Regions from separate parts of the Homo sapiens genome. Here regions 1 and 2 are each linked to region 3. The links are contacts of gene promoters, found by promoter capture Hi-C in blood cells and fetal thymus (Javierre and others, 2016). All regions are on one chromosome and are shown on one strand. The core of a region is centred on a gene start or on the middle of the fragment in contact, and the rest is flanking DNA. Distances in the headings are between cores, read along the strand shown.

Region 1 (2,912 bases), core at 68-2,567, 140 kb before region 3:
ACTGTGAAAGCACTGGGTAGGTTACTAAATGTAATAGATCTGTCGTGAGTACTAAAAAAAATGAAGCTCTAACTGTAGAGCTTTGAGTAGCGGACCACGGAGAAGGTGTGGGGAGAAAAGGGAATCTGGGGACAGATTGAGAAGGGGTTTTACTCCTTGGAAGAAGAAGGAATGAGGCACTTCACGCCCCAGGAAGTTTCCTACATCTCTAGAATTAGGGTAGCGACTGCGATTTACTCAATCTAATGCTAACCGCATGTCTTGGAAGAGGGTCTCAGTTCCTCAGAGGAAAACCAACCCCATTTCTGAGGGCGTTTCTGATCTCCCAGGTTATGCCTGGAACTTGAAGCATCCGATTTTGGGAGCTTTATGTTTGCGTTGGGGGCGGGGTTCGTTGTTTTGTTTTGTTTTTGTTTTGTTTCGTTTTGTTTTGTTTTGAGATGGAGGTATCGCTCTATAGCCCAGGCTGGAGTGTAGTTGCGTGATCACGGCTCACTGCAGCTTCAATCTCCGGGCTCAAGCGATCCTTCTACCTCAGCCTCCCTAGTAGCTGGGGCCACTGGAGCGCGCCACCAAGCCCGGCTAATTTTTTTATGTTTTTGGTAGAGACAGGGTTCGCCATGTTTCTCAGGCTGGTCTCGAACTCCTGGCCTTAAGTGGTCCGCCCGCCTTGGTCTCCCAGTGTTGGGATTACAGGCGTGAGCCACCGCTCCCGGCCCTGGGGGTGGTTCTTAAGCATCCCCAAATCTGTATGGATATATATCTCAACGCCTATCCCTCCCTCTGCTCCCCCTCGCCCAGTCTGTCCCATGTGAGTGTTGTATCTTGTTCGCTGTGAAAGGTGATGAGGGTCGGTGGGGGAAATCTCAGATCCCCGAGCAGGAAGGTTCTTAGTCGTTCTGTGAGTGCCCCTCCCTTCTCCATAGATCTCTTGTCCCCTAGAACGGGTTTCCTGTTTTCCCGCCCGACTCACCCGCAGTCGCTTCCTCTCCAGTCTTGGCGTCCCACTGCCTCAGGGTTACTCAGAGCAACTCCATGGCAACTGCTTTCGTCACCACAACCCGGCAGGCGCCATAAGTACTGACGCGATGCTTACCGGGACCTTCAGTTTGTCAGGGGCGGGGCTTCAAGGCCGCGGGTGACGCTGGGATTTGTAGTTCTCTTTGCCTTCAAGTACAGGCCGGGGTCCGGAAGCGGTGATACCCCTTCTCTTTCCCAGTGGCCCTCAAACTTCCTTTTCCCGGGTCCTTAAGCGGGCCCCGCCGACAGAGGCCAATCAGAGGGCAGCGCGAGGGGGCGGGGCCATAGTTTAAACTAATTGTGCGCTCACAGCGCTGGCGCGAGCCCACGAAGAGGTACGATTCCGGAGAATCGCGAGGCAGAGCGGGAGCGCGCAGCCAGGTAACCGGCGCGGGCCCGCGTTTGGCGTGCGGCCTGGGCACCCCTGCGGGTGCTCAGGCCTAAAAGGGGTGCTGGAGAGGCCGCTGCGAGCGGAAGGCCTCCTCCATAACCGAGTCCGAAAGGGCAGAATCTATGGGGGTAAGGTTTGTGAGGAGAGGCGCCTGAGAGGGAGGAGCCGGGGGGGGGGGGGGTGCCTTAAAGGGGAGGGTCTGTTTGGGGGCGTGTCTGTGGAATTAAATCTGAAGGTGACTGGGGTCGGGGGTATAGGGCAAGTTCCCGAAAGGCTTGTAAGCGAGGGGTCGGGTCCTGGAAAGTCTTTGCCTTTTATCGTTAACAATAGCAGTAGTTATGGTAGTGCAGTAGTCAGCATTTTCTGAGCTACACCGTCCACAATGACCTGCCAAATGTTTATCTTTTTAATCTTCTAACCACCTGTTATACTTTAAAGATGGGGAGCCTGAGGTTTATAATGTTTAGCTTGGCCCGGGTTACGTAGCCAGTGCGAGGTTGGCTCTACTTTGGGTTTATGGGTTGGGCATAAATGGGGACGGGGAAGGTGCTTTGTGGGGGCGCGCGTTGTCTTGGACTGGTCAGTGTATTTTGAGCCTCACTTTTCATATATGTAAACAATGACCTTACCTGCCTTACCTACTTCCTGGGGTGGTTGTCCTGGTCAAAACAGGTTAAGTCTTTTTTTTTTTTTTTTTTAATTTTTGTTTGTTTTTGTTTTTCATCCATGGACTCTCACAGATAACATGTTTCATACACGCACCTCGGAGAGTACAAATTTATGACTATAAGTGGTGTGACTGTGTGAAGATTGTGGGTGGGCGGGAGCCCACTGGGTTGATGCTGCCGCCTCTGGGTACTCTCTTTTGCTTACCTCTGAGTTAGCACTTGTCATTTTTTTTTTTTTTTGAGACGGAGTCTCGCCCTATCGCCCAGGCCGGAGTGCAGTGGCGCGATCTCGGCTCACTGCAACCTCTGCCACCCGGGTTCAAACAGTTCCCTGCCTCAGCCTCCCGAGTAGCTGGGATTACAGGCGCCCGCTACCACACCCGGCTAACTTTTGTATTTTTAGTAGACACAGGGTTTCACCATCTTGGCCAGGCCGGTCTTGAACTCTTGACCTCGTGATCCGCCCGCCTCGGCTTCCCAAAGTGCTTGGGATTACAGGCGTGAGCCATCACGCCCGGCCTGCCATCTGGTATTTTAAAAGTCTGCGTGTTTGTCTGCCCTTCTAGATAACGAGAGACTTTTTCGTCACTGTATCCTAATGGCTAGGCAGGATTTGCGACATGTAATGGGAATAAATGTATGCTTTGGAATAATTTCTTGGGCTGAAAGGGCACAGGAATTTCGCTTTCCCGTTTTCATTTAGTGGCATTTGAACCTCAGTATTAAGCTGTCCTCTTTACTGGAATGGCACTCCCTCTTGAAAACGTGATGATATTTTCTTGCTTTAATACATAATTCCCTCTCTCTAGTATCTGTTGCCTGGTTCTATGTTT
Region 2 (2,916 bases), core at 417-2,916, 170 kb before region 3:
CCAGAGTAACTCAGTTAAACTGTAAATCAGATTGTGTGGACCCTGTGCTCACAACCCTCCACTGGCTCCCCAACTCCTCATCTCCTACCTATTACTCTCCCTAGAGGACACTATGCCCAAGCCATTCTAGGCCCTCTGCACTTGTATTCTCTCTCTCTGAAATGCTCTTCCACAAATATCAGAAGGCTCTCTGCTCCTTCAGACCTTTACTCAAAAGTCACCTTCCCAGTGACTTTGGCCCCCCAGTCTGAAATAAAACACCTCCCCTGCAAATATTTTATTCCCACTTCTCAGATTTATTTTTTCTCTTATTTACTGCAATCTTACAACTACATATTTTATTTATCTATCTTCTTTATTGTTTACCTCTCTCAGAATGAAGGCTGCATGAAAAGAGGGACTTTTTTGGTCTGTTTTGTTTACTATTGTATACCCACTACTAAGAATAGTGATGGACATATACTAAGGCACTCAGTAGGTATTTGTTGAATGAATGAAAAAGGTAGTCATTTCCAAGAGGCAAAGTTTACTCTTTAATGAAAAACTATAACAAACAGTGCTATTTGGCAATATAATCACATTCAATATGCACAGTACACGACCTCTTGAACAATTCTTATCCAATCTTCACATCAGCCCAGGATAGAAGGAAGGCTGGGCAGAGATTATGATGCTGGTTGACAAAGAAGCTGAGTCCAGAGAGAGGAAAAGGAATTGCCAAAACTCACACATCTGGCCAGGACAGTACTGGAAATGCGGATAACTGCTGTCCCTGAAAGAGGCTGGTAAGTGATGGAGTTTAATAGGAATTGGGTTTGAAGGACCTCTGTTGCCAGAAAGCATGAGTATCTCTAAAGGCGAAGCTGAGTCAGAGGTTACTAGAACAGAGGCATCAGCAAAGGATGGGAGAGGTGACGAGGGCGATCTCTAAGTGTACTTGGCCCAGGCCTGAGGAGGGCAGCTGATTCCCCCAGCAACAGAATGCTGTGCCTGAGGCTAACTAGTCATTCAAGTCTGTACATAATCTCCAATGTCAAAACTCAACAAGCAACCTTAAGAGAGACCACTAAGTCTACTGCATGTCTGCAGGGTTTGGCTTCCCTGGACTGTGAGGTCTTCCAGGGAAGCGACCATATTCCTAGATTTATCCCCAGTTTCTAGCAAGGCCTGGAATATAGTAATATTGTAACTCTAATATTTTTGTTCAGAGCAAAAATAAAAAAGAATGAATATGCTCAAACGGGAAACTGTAGCTGAGAGAGCACAGATAGGAGGGGCCTAACATCAACCAGCAATTCTGAAGTAGTAACAGATTAGTTTTCTGGGATGCAGCAGGACGAATGGCCCTCGCACTAAAAGGTTGCTGTCAGCTCTTCTTCAGAAGGGGTTAACAAGCAAATGGTGACTGGCAACAAAAGGGCAGGGGTTAAACGGGGCAGTGGTTAAACGAGACCGTAGTGCTGGCGCCAGGATGGAGACGCCGACTGGCTGAGACTCAAGGCGGGGCAGATAGGTAGGCGCGGCACACTTCCTTCCCTAACAATGTGACTAAGGTAGGTCAACGTCACATCCGGTTTAGTGGGCGGGAGCGGGGAAAACAAAAGGAGACGAAGGACGCATGCGTTTGGTGAGTCCCGGATTCTGGTGGGTTCTTCCGCTCAGGCTGGGTGAAGCGCTTCCGGGTCGCCGCCGGCAGCAGCCTCCCGGCGCGGTAAGTACAGACGCAAGGCTGCAACCGTCTCCTTGCCCCTTCATTCCTTTTTCCCCCAGAGAAACCCATTTCCTTTGACCCGACTCCCCAGGAGCTCCATATTGAGAGTCCTTAACCCTTAAAGAGCTCCAGCTCATTGGCCGCTTCCTCGAGACTAAGCCCCACCCCGTCACACAAGGTCCGTCATTCATTGGTGTCACTTCCTGTCACCCAGCATTTCTTTCAGTTAATTGGTCCTACCCAGGCCCCGCTTTTTTCGCGTTTAGCAACCCTATAAGGCCAAATTTCTGTCTGAGACCCGCCCTGCTTTCTTTCTGTTGGTCAACTGCATGGTCATTATCGTAATGAGCAAAGAAAGGGCGGTGGCTTTGCGACGGTGGGTTGGGCTTTCGGAGCCGAGATCGCTGGTCTGTCAGTACTTCTTGGACATGAGGGTGTTTACCGTCGTGCCTAATTACGCGGGTTGGGAATCTGAGATACAGGGAAGGGCAGCGGCTGGCCCTGGGTCGGTCAGATAAATTAAGACAAAAGCAGGACCAGGCATCGATTATTTTCTCCTGCTCATCCCTTTCACGGAGGAATTCTAAGCCCCGACACACTGTATGACCTAAAGCCAGTCTCTGCCTGTCGCTGGGCCTCAGTTCGCCTGTCCTAAGTTTAATTCAGATTATCTGGCACTCCTGGTCGGCTCCCTCAGCCGCTCAAAGCTGATTGTACCCTTATAATGTTAGTTCATCCATTCAATCTTCCATCTACTTATTTATCCACTTATTCATGCCTCCTAGAATGTCTTACTGAACCCTGCTTGCATATGCTACAATCCCTCCACCCCGACATTTGGCTGTGATTCATGAGAGGTCGTTAGTGTCCTAAATTTCTGACACTGGGTGGGTGTGGTATGGGCCATCATAAAGGGTCAAAAAGCAGGTTTTAGTGTGTGGAGGAGGTAGGGATAGTTTCAGTAGAACCCTGCTACCTCTAATTTTGTATAATTTCATAATGCCAGTCTGCATTCTGGATTCCTATCCCTACACTTGACTCCCATTCTCATCCCTCCTTGAACAGCCTGCAAACAGCTTTGTTGATCCATTATTTACTTAATTATCAGAATAACTTTGACAGTGGTATAATTGTTATTATCCCCATTTTACAGATGAAGACACTGAGGCTCAGAGAGGTTAAGTGACTCAGCCAAGGTCAAACAG
Region 3 (2,925 bases), core at 333-2,832:
AAGTAATCCGCCCGCCTCAGCCTCCCAAAGTCCTGGGATTACAGGCGTGAGCCACTGTGCCCGGCTAAATTTCTGTTGTTTATAAATTACCCAGTCTAAGGTATTTTACTATAGCAGCCCAAAAGGACTAAAACACCCCCCACCGAATCCAAAACACTATCATCTCCCATATGGACTATTACCATAACTTCCTAACCCTCTCACTGAGTCACCTCCTACAATCCATTCTTCTCAAAGCAGCCAGAAAGATCTTTTAAAAAATGAAAATCAGCTCACATCACTCCCATTTTGAAACCCAATCAAAATCTTTTCATTGCCGGGCACGGTGGTTCATGCCTGTAATCCCAGCACTTTGGGAGGTCGAGGCAGATGGATTATTAGGTCAGGAGATTGAGACCATCCTGGCTAACATGGTGAAACCCCGTCTCTAATAAAAAATACAAAAAAATAGCTGGGCGTGGTGGCAGGCACCTGTAGTCCCAGCTACTCGGGAGGCTGAGGCAGGAGAATGGCACGAACCCAGGAGGCGGAGCTTGCAGCGAGCCAAGATCGCGCTACTGCACTCCAGCCTGGGCAACAGAGCAAGACTCCGTCTCAAAAAAAAAAAAAAAAAAAATTCTCATTACACGCTCAATAAAATTCAACATGTATCACAGCAGCTACAAGGCCTTATAAATCTGACCTTGCCAGACTCCCTGACCTCATACAGAACCATTTTTCCTTTGCTAATTATGATCTGTCACACTGGCTTTCTTTTTGGTCCCAGGACATGCCTTGTTCATTCCCATTAATTTGTACTTGCTTCTCCCTCCACTTGGAACATATCTGCTTCCAAATCTCGAAATTGCTAGGTCTTCACCATTCAGGACTTGGTTCAAGTAGCATTTCCTCAGAGGCTTTCCATAATCACCCTATTTAAAGTAGCCTTTCTCTTCTAGTCATCTTTATCACATTACATTACTTTTCTCAAAGCATTTGTCACCATCTGGAGTTATCCTGTTTATTTGTTATCTACTTTACCACATTAGAAACTAAACCTAATATGAGCAAGGACCTCAGTTGTCTTGTTCACTGCTGAATTACTGGGACCTAGAAAAATGTTTGACACTGAAGTCACAAGTATTTGAAGAAGGAAATAATGAATAATTAATACAGACCACAAACTTAATAAATGTTTACTGAATACATGAGTGAACGAATTAGGGAGAGAAATAAAGGGCAAAACATAAATAAGTGAAAGCACTGCTATTTAACATTTTTATAGCTGCTCACTTCTCTCTACCCTACTGTCTTTGCTCAAGCTCAGGTCCGCATCATCTCGCTCCTAAACTACTGCAATATCTCCTAACTGATTTATTCTCCTTTTTCCAACCTGATCCTTCCAAAAGTAACTTCCAAACTTCAATTAGACTTGGTCATTCTGAGACAGAGATCTAAACACATTACTCCCCTGCTCAAGACTCTTCAGTGGCTCTCTACAGCCCAGGCTTTTTAGCACAGTCACTCACTGCTATCCCCTTACGTTTAACCTAAATTCCAGTCATACAGAACTGCGTACAGTCCCAGAATATTCCACGCTGTTTAACGTCTCCAAGCCTTGCATATCTTTTCATTTTGCTGGACCACTCACTCTTCCTTACCTCACTGATTTTGACTACCTATTGAACTCAACTTAATCCTCAAGAACAAACTCAAAACATCTTCTCCATTAAGTCTTTAAGGATTCCCGAAGCAGAGTTAATCACTCCCTCCTTTGTGTCATCACAGTACTTAACACATGCTGACACTATACTACAACCATCTGTTCCCATGTCTGGTTTACCTCACAGGACTATTAATCTCGTGAGAGCAGGAGCCACATTTTCATCTTTGTGTCCCCAGCACAGTATCTAGCATATATCAGAACTCAATAATTGGTGACTGAAGGAATGAATAAATGTATCCAAACTCCTCAGCCTGGCATTCAAAAGTCAACCTCATGTTGGCCCCAACCTACCTTTTTTAATTTAGCTCTTACTCTTCTCTTACTTGCTAATCACAAATACATCCTCATTTCTCAACATTGACCTTGGGCGTTCATTCCTAATGCTCTAATGAAATTCAAATCATCCATGAAGGCCGAACTCAAATGGCTCCCTCTCCAAGAAGTCTTCCCTAGCCATATCCATGAGAGGGTACTTCCCCTACAGTACTTTGTTTTTTTCTACCGGAAAAAAACATTTAGTACTTCTTATTTTAGAATTATGGCCACTATCTTTCCAACTGGACTACATGTCTTATTTTTCTAACTAGACTGTAAATTCCCTGAATGCAAGAAACATGGTTTTCTCTCAACCCAAATCCCTAACATAGTGACTTGCACAAAGCATGCAGTTATCAGTAAATATATCATTAGTGAGGAATCATATGCTCAAGGATTAGAGACTTCATGTCTTTATTCCTTTATACATATGCTTTTACCTTGGCCTAAAGTGGCCTCCTATCCACATGATAAACTTTTAAGAATCAGCCTAAATGCCATACCCTATCGGAAGTCTTCTTTAATGCTCCCAAATAGACTTAAGCACTCCTTCTTCTGTACACTTGTGGCATCTTGTACGTAATTTATAACTCTACTCCTCATACTATATTGTCATTATCACTTGATGGGTTCCTCTCCCAACTAGACCATAACTTCTTTAGAGCAGAGATAGTCTCTTTGTCCATTTATTAATTCCCAAGACTAAAAAGAGTACCTGGCATAATTAAGTGCACAATAAATACATAGTGACTTTTGAAAATAATGAATCCATGTCATAGTGTATACCAGCAATAGTGTACACTATAACATGAAGACATGAGGTTGTATCACCATGTTCAAATCCCACCTCCACTTACAAGCTGTGTGACCCTGAATAAATTACTTTTCTGTGTCTCAGTTTTTCT

Evidence for each region. Contacts are between HindIII fragments. The CHiCAGO score rates a contact against its expected background, and 5 or more counts as called.
Region 1: a contact is called between the fragment with the promoter of NUMA1 here and a fragment that was not itself captured in region 3, in 3 of 17 cell types (naive B cells, naive CD8 T cells and total CD4 T cells). The highest score is 5.7, in naive B cells.
Region 2: a contact is called between the fragment with the promoter of ANAPC15 here and a fragment that was not itself captured in region 3, in 3 of 17 cell types (naive B cells, activated CD4 T cells and naive CD8 T cells). The highest score is 6.2, in naive B cells.

Annotation. Positions count from the first base shown.
Region 1 is chr11:72,078,947-72,081,858 of GRCh38, reverse strand. It overlaps NUMA1 (nuclear mitotic apparatus protein 1), which reads left to right and starts at 1,317. Exons shown (of 27, transcript NM_006185.4): 1 at 1,317-1,401. LRTOMT (leucine rich transmembrane and O-methyltransferase domain containing) reads right to left here and starts at 1,009. Exons shown (of 9, transcript NM_001145310.4): 1 at 974-1,009. It overlaps LRRC51 (leucine rich repeat containing 51), which reads right to left and starts at 1,009. Exons shown (of 6, transcript NM_145309.6): 1 at 974-1,009. RefSeq lists enhancers at 1-950, 962-1,231, 951-1,906. The HindIII fragment of the contact is 5,366 bases long and covers 1-2,912 here.
Region 2 is chr11:72,111,445-72,114,360 of GRCh38, reverse strand. ANAPC15 (anaphase promoting complex subunit 15) reads left to right here and starts at 1,666. Exons shown (of 6, transcript NM_014042.3): 1 at 1,666-1,711; 2 at 2,865-2,916. RefSeq lists enhancers at 783-1,320, 1,628-1,687, 1,788-1,847, 1,321-1,858, 2,018-2,187 and 1 more and a silencer at 1,440-1,657. The HindIII fragment of the contact is 5,139 bases long and covers 1-2,916 here.
Region 3 is chr11:71,939,622-71,942,546 of GRCh38, reverse strand. All of the region lies in intron 1 of RNF121 (ring finger protein 121), which reads right to left. Among named protein-coding and RNA genes, the nearest start is that of RNF121, 12 kb to the right of the region's middle. The HindIII fragment of the contact is 4,567 bases long and covers 1-2,925 here.